Linked DNA regions of Homo sapiens: all the other regions are linked to region 1. The links are contacts of gene promoters, found by promoter capture Hi-C in human tissues and cell types (Jung and others, 2019). All regions are on one chromosome and are shown on one strand. Each heading gives the region's core, a stretch centred on a gene start or on the middle of the fragment in contact. The rest is flanking DNA. Distances are from core to core; before and after follow the strand shown.

The links. The method cuts DNA at HindIII sites, captures the fragments that hold promoters and counts their contacts. A contact is called where the count stands out against the background at its distance.
Region 2: a fragment that was not itself captured here is called in contact with the fragment with the promoter of ZDHHC21 in region 1 in 3 of the 25 tissues and cell types used here (liver, lymphoblastoid cells and pancreas).
Region 3: a contact is called between a fragment that was not itself captured here and the fragment with the promoter of ZDHHC21 in region 1, in 1 of the 25 tissues and cell types used here (adrenal gland).

The regions. Positions count from the first base shown.
Region 1 is chr9:14,692,182-14,695,952 of GRCh38, reverse strand. ZDHHC21 (zDHHC palmitoyltransferase 21) reads left to right here and starts at 2,521. Exons shown (of 10, transcript NM_178566.6): 1 at 2,521-2,724. RefSeq lists an enhancer at 2,016-2,516 and silencers at 2,590-2,659, 2,740-2,879. The HindIII fragment of the contact is 8,706 bases long and covers 1-3,771 here.
Region 2 is chr9:14,641,228-14,644,998 of GRCh38, reverse strand. The region is part of intron 7 of ZDHHC21 (zDHHC palmitoyltransferase 21); the gene reads left to right. Among named protein-coding and RNA genes, the nearest start is that of ZDHHC21, 50 kb to the left of the region's middle. The HindIII fragment of the contact is 6,948 bases long and covers 1-3,771 here.
Region 3 is chr9:14,740,037-14,743,807 of GRCh38, reverse strand. It overlaps FREM1 (FRAS1 related extracellular matrix 1), which reads left to right. Exons shown (of 37, transcript NM_001379081.2): 36 at 3,574-3,659. Among named protein-coding and RNA genes, the nearest start is that of CER1, 19 kb to the right of the region's middle. The HindIII fragment of the contact is 3,947 bases long and covers 1-3,596 here.

The DNA of each region.
Region 1 (3,771 bases), core at 1,272-3,771:
TTACCCTCATAAATGCCCTGAGTGTGCCTTTGTTAGAAGCTTGGTTGGCAGTGGCAGCAATGCTACTTGTCCTTGTCTACTTTTTCTACTTCCAGATAAATATTAGTTTGATTAATAATCACATTTCAGTTTGTCCCAGGCCCCATGAAGTAGATTAGAATTCTGGAGGGAAAAAATATGGTACGATCTATATCGTCTTTCCATAATATACCCAGTAAATAGAAAATCTTTTCAAAAGATTACCTGATGCCACATCTCCCTCACCCCCTTATTGTTACCCAGGTGCCTGAATGTATGGGTTGCAATACAATATAACCAATGATTAGCATGAATGATAGAACCAGATGACTTGACCTTCAGTGTAAGGGATAGGCAGGCCTTTGATTATACTCATGAAATGCCCATGCTAAAAAGGTTCATGTTTTTAAGGATGTTTCTCCTGCCTCTTCTCTCCTATTCCCTTGCTTAAAAATTCTCTGTGGAATTGATTTGGCTGATAAAAGACAGGCTAACTTATTTTAAAAAGGGACTGAAAAATCCATGCACTTCCAATTGTCATGTGCAATCATGGACCTGTCAACTAATTCTTATTTTGGCAGTTTTGAGATCACTTGTCACAAATTATTCCCTCTCACAGGGGTATCTGAAGAGAAAGCAAAATAATATGCAATTCATGTAGCTGGATTCAGGTGGAGGGGATTCTACTTTTAATATGCAATTGGGTAGCTGGATTTGGGTGGGGGGGGGATTTTACATTTAATATGCAATTCTGGTAGCTGGATTCGGGTAGGGAGGAGTCCACATTTAATATGCAATCAGGTAGCTGGATTTGGGTAGAAGGGATTCACATTGAATACGCAATCAGGTAGCTGGATTCCGGTGGGAGGATTCCACATTTCCTCTTCCTTCAAAGTGATTGTTTATATGAAATATCTCCTTCTTTTCAAACAGAGAAAGTTACAAAAATCCTACTACATCAAATGATTTATGAAAAATAAAGGTAATTCTATCAAAAGCAATCGTGACTAGTCTTTCAACCTCGCTATGCATATATCGGGGAGTGTATTTGTTAACCTGAAAGGCAATAAAATCTGCTTATGGGTAAATCAATTCCTACCACTGGGTTCTTTTGGGAATATCTAGTAATCTAGGTCAGTAATTCTAAAACTTGAGTGTGTATTAGGATCACCTAAAAGGCTTGTTACATCACGGATTGCTGGGCTACACCTAAACAGTTTCTACTACAGTAGATCTGGGATGGGGCAAAAGAATATGGATTTCTCACAAGTTGACAGGTGATACCGATGCTGCTGGTCTAGGGATCCCACTTTGATAACCACTGACCAAAGTTTTTAAGGTCACAAGGTGTTTATAATTAGTTCAGAAACCAGGACACAACATGTTTAAAAATCCTTAGCAATACAAGGTAATATGAGGCCCCAAACAGGCAACAATGTGCACTATATAAGGGCAGTGGTGAGAGAACTCTGGTTTGGCAAGATTTCCACTCTCAAATCTGGATAGGGTTAAGATCATCAGAGAGCAGGGCATTCTAGAATGGGGAAATGAACCAAATTAGTTGGAGCTAAGACTGGAGAGGTAGGTAGGGATGTGTCTGTGGAGGGCTTTTAAGCACATCTTATAAGGAATACAGATTTTATACAACAGGTAATATTTCTTCCACCAACACACTGTCTCCTCCTGTGGCACGTGGGCAGAAAGATCTAGCTCCACATTACTGCAAACGGTTTAACCTTCCCCAAATACTGTTCAGCCGGAGTGAGGTGGGAAAGTTAGTAGATCTCTGGTGTTTGGTGAAGATACCAAGTTAGACTGAGAGGTGGATTACTTGCATCGCTGAGTCCAAAAGTTGTCGGCTTTTGCAGGGATGGGAAAGCAGGAAACTTTTGGAGGTCTCCCAAAATATAAGAAAAGATTGTTTGGGTGTGGATTTAGGTTGAGGACAGGAACAGGAAATATCCTGGGATGTCTGAGGCAACCCAATAGAGGGTCTGAAGTGGACGAGACCATGCACTACAGTGCAATGCTTTTCCATCTTTACGGTGCACCCCAGGAGTCACCTGGTGATCTTGCTGAAGTGCATGTACTGATTCAGCAGGCCTGAAATTGTGCATTTCAAAGATTGTGAGTTCCCAGAGGATGCTGATGCTGCAGACCGCGCTTTGAAGCAAGGTACCATGGGACATCCCAGAACACCTGCGGGGAGAGAGGCCTGCTGGCCACATCCCCCGAAGAAAGGATACATGCAATCTTTTAAGCTAAGGCCCCCATCCTGTCTCTCGGGAGAGGTGAGCAGTGAGGATATGGGGACAATGAGAAGGACGGCTCAAGTAGGGCTGGGGAGGGGCAGAGGCGCCCAGGCGCGCCAGGTGCAAGCGCTCTGGAGAGTGCGGTCTGCCTGGGTCCGCGGCTCTGGGGCTGCGGCGCGATTGCAGGAGTTTCGGCCCTCAGCGGCTCCCATCGCGGCTCCCGGGAGCTAAGCGAGACGGCGACGGCGGCAGTCGTCCCTCCCCACGCGGGCGCGCGGGCATGCGGACACCCACTCGGCCGGTCCAGGCCCTCAGGCTCCCGGAAGCGGAAGGGGAGAGCGGCCCGGCCTGGGCGGCGGCGCCGGAGGAGGCGGAGGTGGCGCGGCAGGAGGAGGGGAAAGAGCTGCTGGCGGTCGGGAGAGCGGCGGCAGCGAGAGGCGAGCCAGCGGCGACGGTGAGTGTGCAGGCGCGGGGGCGAAGCGGCCGCCCCCACCCCCATCCCCATCCGCACCCCCACCCCCATCCCCGGCCCCCGCTCCGCTCTGCCGGGCCCGCCCGCCGCTCCTCCGCGCCGGGACGCCCTCACCTGTTCCTGCACGCCCCCTGCACCTGCTCTGTTTGGAACCCGGGGGTTTCTCGGTGCCTCCCCGCCCCAGGCCTGGCCTTTTTCAGAGCGTCTTCTGCTAGAGCTACAGCCCCTTGCTAAGTGCTCCTCCCTCAACTGGGGGTGGGGGGTTCCTGCTCTAGTCGAGACGATGTTGGCTAGTTATTTATTTATTTATTTTAAATCTGTATCCTGAGTTTCTCGCTTGTAAACTACAGTTTCTCTCCCCGCACCCCCGTCTGGAGACCTGCACTGGGATCCCGGGTTTCTCTGTGCTATTCCAGAGCTTTTCATTCATTCCAGACTTCTGGTGTGAAGCTGCAGAGAGGACAAACAGTTTGCTCCTTTATTGACCTTCTCACTCCTCTCCTCTTGATCCAAAGAGGTTTTCGGAAAATGGCTTATGGATGGCAGCAGTTTGCACTTGTTACTGTTCACTGTAACAGGTCGCTGGATTGTAACTGCAGAGTCCATTTAAGTTACGGTCTTTTTCAAGCTATATGTGGGTCACATTTTAAGATCCCTTGAGAGTCAGGGTGGATGTCTGTATCACCAGGGCTGAGAGGACATGACCAATTATTACTTTAAAATATTGCAATATAGCAGTCTCTAAAAGTAGAAGAGAAAAAAAAATCAAGGTCATTGTGGGCGGGTCATAAATTATATTGTAAAGTTACAGTCCAAAGGCGACTAAGGATAATTAAGTGCAATTTAAAAAGATGTGTTAAATAGGTCCTCAGCCTACTATGCTAATATATGCACTTTTAAAAATTCACTGCTTTCCTTGTGGTAAGAATAATATTAATAACAGTCACCATTTGATGACTGCTTAGTATGCGCCATTCCTGGATTAAAAGGCTTTTGGTGTAATATTAAATTCTTCCAACTCTTTAGATT
Region 2 (3,771 bases), core at 639-3,138, 50 kb after region 1:
AAAACTTGCCCTGTCGAGAATACATGCAGTAGAACCGACTTTCCTACCTTGCTCTGTTTATATGAGCCTCATGGTATTCTTTGTGTTTGTTTTTTCCTATGAAATAAAGAAACAGCTTAGCAATTTCTACAGACTAAAGCAAAGTAAATATATATATATATGTGTGTGTGTGTGTGTGTATACATATGTATGTGTGTATATATATAAACTCCCACCAGTTGTATATAGTATGTAATGTGGTTATATATAAGCAACCTGATCAAATTGAGTTTATCCTAGGAATGAAAGGTGGTTTTTGCACTAGAAAATAAGTCAGTATATTTTATCACATTAACAGATTAGAAAAAAAATTCAAATAGAGCATCTCAGTGTATGAAGACAAAGATAAAATTCAGGATTCATTCAGGTTACACACTCTTAGTAAACTAGAACTTAGGAGAACTTTCATAATCAGATAAATGGTCTTTCTTCCCGACCCCCTTAAAAAAAAAACACACAAAATCAACCAACTATAGCATGCTAAGATGAAATGTTGACTTCTTCCCTCCAGGTTGGAGACAAGGCATTGATGCCCCCACTATCACCATTATTATTCTTAAATATACTACTAGAAATTCTAGCCAGTGCAGTAAGACAAGAGAAAGAAAGAAAAGGTACAACTGCTGAAGGAAATAAAACTGTCATTACACATAGATGATGTAACTGTATAAATGATTTATCTATAGATTCTTTTGGGTTTTTAAGAAAGTATAAAAAATGTGACTATGAAACAATATTTTTAAAAATCTATTTTTATATGCTCACAAACAAACCTTTAGACAATGAAATTAATAGCAAATGCCATTTATAATAGAATCAAAAAACAGGAAATTGCTGAATTAAATCTGACAAAGTGCAAGTCCTTTAGAAGAAACTTAACGAAAGGTAATGGAGAGAATATATTATACGTGAATGTATGCATGAGTATGTGTTGTAACTTGAAAATGTAACTTTAAAATTTTTATGCAAATACAAATTATCTGGAATAATCAAGACGTTCTTGCAAAAGAGTAAGATGGGATGACATGGCCTACCAGGTATTGAGACTTATTACAAAGCCGTAATAACTAAGACATTTGTCACCGTTGCAGGGATAAACAAACCAAGGGAACAAGAGTAGAGAGCCCATGCATGTATGGATACTTGATCTCAGGTCACTGAAGAAATGACAGCTTTTTAGATAAGTCATTCCGGAACAGTTGAATATTCATATACAAAAAGTAAATTCAGATTCCTATCTTTCACTGTGCACAAAAAAATTAAATAATAATTCTATGTGAATTAGTGACCTAAATGTGAAAGGCAAAACTTAACAAAGCTTTTAAAAGGCTTTACAAGATAATATAGGAGAATGCCATTATTACTTCAGCATCAGGAAAGATTTCTTAAATAGGATATAAAAAGCACTAAAGGAAAAGATTGATACATTGGACTACGTAAAATTAAGACTTTAGTTTATAAAAAGGTGCCATCAAGAGAGTGAATAGGGTAGTTTCAGAGCAGGAGAAGATATTTGCAATATGCAGCTGAAACATAGCAATATCCAAAATGTATGAAGAAGGAGTTAGTAACCTTTACCTTTAGGGTAGGGGTGAGGGAGAGCCAGCAATGGGGAAGGAATACACAGGAGGCTCTACTTGGTTTCAGATGTTCTAATTCTTGAGAGGATACTGTTACTTTTCTTCTTCTTCTTTATATATATATATTTTTTTGAGACAGAGTCTCACTCTGTTGCCCAGGCTGGAGTGCAGTGGCACGATCTCGGCTCACTGCAACCTCCACCTGCCAGGTTCACGTGATCCTCCTGCCTCAGCCCCGCCTAGTAGCTGTGATTATAGGCATGCACCACCGTACCCTGCTATTTTATTTTTATTTTTATTTTTTAGTAGAGACGGGGTTTCGCCTGTTGGCCAGGCTAGTCTCGAACTCCTGACCTCAGGTGATCCACCCACCTTGGCCTCCCAAAGTGCTGGGATTACAGGCGTGAGCCACCGTACCCAGCCCAGTGTTACTTTTCTTTAAACTGAACACATGTGTTTTATGAATTTATCTGTATATGAGCACATTTTTTAACAAAAATGGAAGAAATGTAAACAATAAAGAAATACATTTATTGATTATATTAGTTTGCTAGGCCTGTCTTAAGAAAATACAACAAAGTGGGTGGCTTAAACAACAGAAATTCATTTTCTCACATTCTGTAGGCTACAACTCCAAGATCAGGGTGTCAGCAGGTTAGTTTTCTCCTGATGCCTCTGTCTTTGGCTTGCAGATAACCACCTTCTCTCTGTCCCCACATGGTCTTTCCTCCGGGAACATCCATGGTGTCTCTCAGTGTGTCCAAATTTCCTCTTCTTATAAGGGAACCAGTTGGATTGGATTAGTGCCCACCCTAAGGGCCTCATTTTATTTTAGTCACTGCTTTAAAGGCTTTGTCTCCAACTACAGTCATATTCTAAGGTACAGGGGTTAGGGCTTCAACATAGGAATTTTGGGGGACCTAATTGAGCCCATAACACTGATTATGTAGTAAAGATCTCGGATAGCAAATGGGTTCCTGTGATTTGGATAAAAATTTTTAAGCCAATTTTTGGATTCAAAAAGTGTTAAATCTAAAAAAATCTAAGACAGAAGTAAAGATGTACTCTAGAGAACAGTGTTAAGTGACTCAAAATATGGATTTAGTGCTGATGATGTTAATTATGCATGTGTGAACTTGGAATACAGTTGTTTTTTTGAAAATGTAAAAGTGATAAAAAGCAATTTCTAGATTAAAGTTTTTTTACTACTGTATTTTACATAAATACTTTAAATATAAATGTATAACCAAATGAATAAATGTAATATTATAAGTAGATCTTTTAGTCTCATCTCCATCCTTGACATTTATAAATTGTAGTTGGCCAAAAATTATTTTAAAATCTTTTCACTGGGAGTAGAGTGGATGGATTTTATTTGGTCATAGATGGTAATTTTAGTACAGTAAGCTCTGCTATAATGCAATATGTGCATTCCTAAAAATCACCTCACTGTGTAAAACCGTGCATTAAAACCACAGGGCTTACCACTCCGAAACTTTGTCTGTGACACTTAAAAGGATAGGAATATAATAAAAACAACAGCACTCTTTTATATAAATATTACGTGATTAAGAAATACATAAATACTATGATAAACATGGCACTTTACCTTGAGAAAGACCTGAAGTTTTCTTATGGAAGTGAGCATCAGGAGGGTTGCAGAATGTGAATTATTGTGAAGTGATGGAAGGGAGGGTCTGTGAAATTGGAGGGAAAGTTGTAATACTAGTTGTGGGTGGGTGTGGCTCATAGCATGGAAGAGAAACTGAGGTGGCTGGTAGATGTTTGACGGGTGAGTGTGTTTTGTGTATTCCTACATATTTTGGTTCATCTGGGTACAATTTTTTGTGTTCATCTAGGATTTTTTCACAGATAAAAGTATGCATAAGAATGATTGCCATGGTCAAACTTGTTTAATGTATCAATTATGTTAGAACAAATTTGTGTTTTTAAATAGTGTTAATGCAGAATTTACTTAATTTTTTATGTCATCCACAGGCCCATCATTTTGGTTTTATATGTTTTATAGGGATTCTATATTGGGTTCTTTTTACTGAAGTTTTGAAATGATTGCCTAATATTTACCTGCTACATAACGTTTTAAGTGTCTTGCTGAATTCTAAGTTTTTCCAGGCTAATGAATAAGTAATGT
Region 3 (3,771 bases), core at 374-2,873, 49 kb before region 1:
AAAAGGGAGAATACTATGGTGTCTCTGCTTACAAAATTAAGGGAAAGAGTAGTTATACTCCAGCCAAAGTTATCAAGGTTAGGTGATTGCTGGGATTTGTTGATAAAATGTAGATGAACAGAACTTCCCACCTTGAAGTTTAGAAGCTATCTTTTGTTCATCTTCCAATGGTTCTTAAAGGCCAATGCAAGTAACTGGTCTATAATGAAGCTTTCATTGGTTCTTAATGTATGAGAAAAATAAGGACAGTAAGTATTGAGAAATATCTTTCCATTCAGTCATGGATGGTGGTGTCACATTGCCAAGTGTGTTTTTTTAAAGGACTGTTCTTTATTACGAGATTATAATAGTCTAGCTTTTTATTGTCAAAAACTACTTTTTATGAAATAATAGCAACTTATAACATTGTCGATGCCCTCATGTTGACAAACCTACATCAGTCTCCCATCATCTTTTGTTTTCATTTTATTGTTCCATCTATTAATAATTGTGACTAGGTTCTATTGGTGAGTAGCAATGAGTTCTTCACGTATCTATGAATACTGTACCATTCGATCATCACAATAATAAACTTAAGGCCTAAATTAATTTAAAAGCATAGATACTTTCTCATGCACTTAATCTAAGATTTCATCTGCAGCTTGGTTTTAAGCACCTTCACCCATGACCCTTTTATATTAGCCTGACTGTAGTTCTACATGCCTCCTTGTCAATAATGTCTTACTTTTATATTTATAGTATATGAAATTGTTTCACATGCATTAGCTTATTGGATCCTTCCATCACTTCTCTTATCTACAGTTTATGGATTTATTTTAAAAAGAGGTTCAAGGAAGCGAAATCACTTGCTCACAGGTATACAAGGAAGTAAATGAAAGAGATAGAATTTAGTTTTTCATCCTTATACTCTCTAAAACAGGTCCCCTAAGTATAGCAGGTTTCTCATCATAGGTGTACTGACAAGTATGTCTATTTTAACTATGTTTTGAGGTAACCCAAAGTAGATTTTCAAAATTATGTGTTAATAATTGTTTTTCTCTCACTGCAAACACATATAAGATTTTTATTAAATTATGGATCCTAAGTTTCCTCTGGATTTGAATCAAACTAACCTTTCAAGGCGAACCTAAGGTATGATCAAATTCCTAGTTTATAGATACATTCATTTAACAAATATTTCTGAAAGTCCTTTACAGAGGGTCATTCACAACACCCATATTTCCACAAGGACAGCAAATTTTGCTTTATCCTTTGTCCCTAACCAGATTGCTAACTCAACTTAATCTTTATCTCTAGTCTTCTTTCCTCCCCAGTGGTGTTTTATTATTTTTCTAAGTCAAAGGAGCCAGACTCCTAGATTATGCACTTCTTGAATTTACATGTTGTAATCTCATCTGCTCATTTCCTCAGGCAGTCATTGTACATTTGGTAATTATATTATTATAGAGCATTATCTATGAAGCCATTTTGTTTTCCCGCAGGAGTGTCTGGAACCCCTGCTGGCCTATCCTTAGAGTTACCCTGAAGTCTACCTATACTTAATCAAAAATTTTCAGAGAAGTAGATGTTTATTTCTATAGCCAGAAAAATTAAAGCTTCTGTTTCTAATTCTATACTACAAATATTTGTGTATGTGTACCTATTTATAATTTTATATCCATATATACACCTATACAGATAATACCCACCACATTTTATATGTATGTGAGCATAAAATAAAAGGAGTGATATTTTTCTAAAATAATAAACATATGAATACCTAAATGTTTCTTTTGCGAATAACTATGCTCTTAACATTTTACCTGTCTTGAAGCAGAGCTATCTTCCCATCTCACTCTTTTGGAACTTCTTGCTTTCTGGAGAGTCAAAAAGAAAACCGAAATTGTACTTGGGCAGCTAAAATGGATTTTACCAAGTTTGTTTTAAAGATAGCTTCAGGAATCTTCAAGCTAGAGAAGATGTTAAATATCCTTGAATAAAACCCATTATATCCTGATGCTGAAGTTGAGGCTGCAAAGTTAGGGAATTTCAGTAAGCAAATTAGTTCAATAAGAGAATTAGGGAATTCAGTCAGGGAATTAAGGGGTAATCAGGAAGTAGAATCCTAGTCTCTCATGCTCTGTACAAAATGTCATAGTGACTGGGACAGTCCCTCAAGCCCTCCCTCAGCTTATATTTAACCCAAGTTTCATATTGTGTGTTCTAAGCCTACAGCGCTTTAGAGTGAGCGTGTTGGATGTGTTGGGGAGGGGAGGAGAGGAGATGCCTCATCATACCTGCTGTAACTGTCAGACAGGAGCTGAGAGTCAATAATGAGGTCAGAGCCAAGTCACAAAACCCAATCCAGCGGTCTAAGGCCATTCAGTGGAGGGGCAAAGAGCCTTATATATCTAAGAAGGCCTAGAAATCATCATTGCATCAGACAGCAGCAAAATACTGTTATTAGTAGAGGGAAATCCTTTAAAAATAGACAAATTATGTTCACCATATCTAGTCTGGAAAAGCAGAGAAATAGATCTGAATTTTGAAAAGACATAGGCAAAATAAATAAAATTAAATTTAACAGCTATCTGCCCGAATGTGTTGCTAATTTTGTTTCCTACTTTTCTTTTCATATCAATGGATATTAACCAGGCAAAAAGATCATGGTGATTTAATTTTTTTCCTTGTTTGATTTTTTAAGTGTTTAAAATTATTTTTTAAAATTTAATTTTATGTTTAATTGACAAATAATACAAATTACATTGTAGGGTACAATGTAATGTTATGATACATGTATACATGATATATTTGTTTCTTGTTTGAAACTTTCTGTTTTTTTTATTTTTAAAGAAGAAAGAATTACTTAGTGGCTTCTTACTTAAAGCATTTTTAAAGAGGTTTTAATGAGCACTGCTGGGGAATTAGGCACAATCAAATATCGCTTCTAGGAATAACTCAGTTAGCTGCAAAAATAATTTATAAAAAATTCTGTTTTGTGAAAAATATTTTACATATGTTTGTAAAAACAAGCACTTTAATTTCTGTGCATTATATGAAGGTTTGACAGTTGGGGCTATACTCATTTCATTGAGTATAATGAAGTCATAATAATGTGTTTATTTGGCTAAACCCACTAAGCTCCAAATTTAAACCTGAAGTAATTTTATCTAAATAGTTAGTTTGGGTTAACTTACTCATCAAATTAACTTGGTATTTGCCAAATTTATACCAGCTAGAAATACACTTATGAGAAGAATAGTATTTTGTCATTAAATAAGTAATTGTTATAAGTAGGCAGTTGCTGATTTTCCAAAAAGATGTTTGAAACCTACTGTTTATGTTTGAAAACCTATCGATGTTTTTTGCTGTAAAGCCCAGATATTATAATAAACCATCACTTTCTTTGATGTCACCTACCCCCACCCTGCAGATACTTTTTAAATAAAACTGCACTATTAAAATCTTAGAAAGTTTTTTTAAAGACCTACTTTTTTGTGTATTTTAAACTTACTTTTATTTCTGTTATGCATTTCGTATCAGCAGAAATGTTAACTGCTTGTTGCTGATACTCTCATTTTCATTTGCATTTAGATACCTGGGCAACCTTGTAACTGTATTCTCCAGGCAGCACATGCGGTGGCTCTGGGACATTGGTGGGAGAAAGTCCTTTTGGATAGGCAAGTATCTGGGAGGGAGGCTGCACTGAGGAGGGAGGCAAGGACATGAAACAAACAGGCACCACCACCCTGCTACTTCCTTCCATGGGTTAAATGATAGTGGTTTACAATA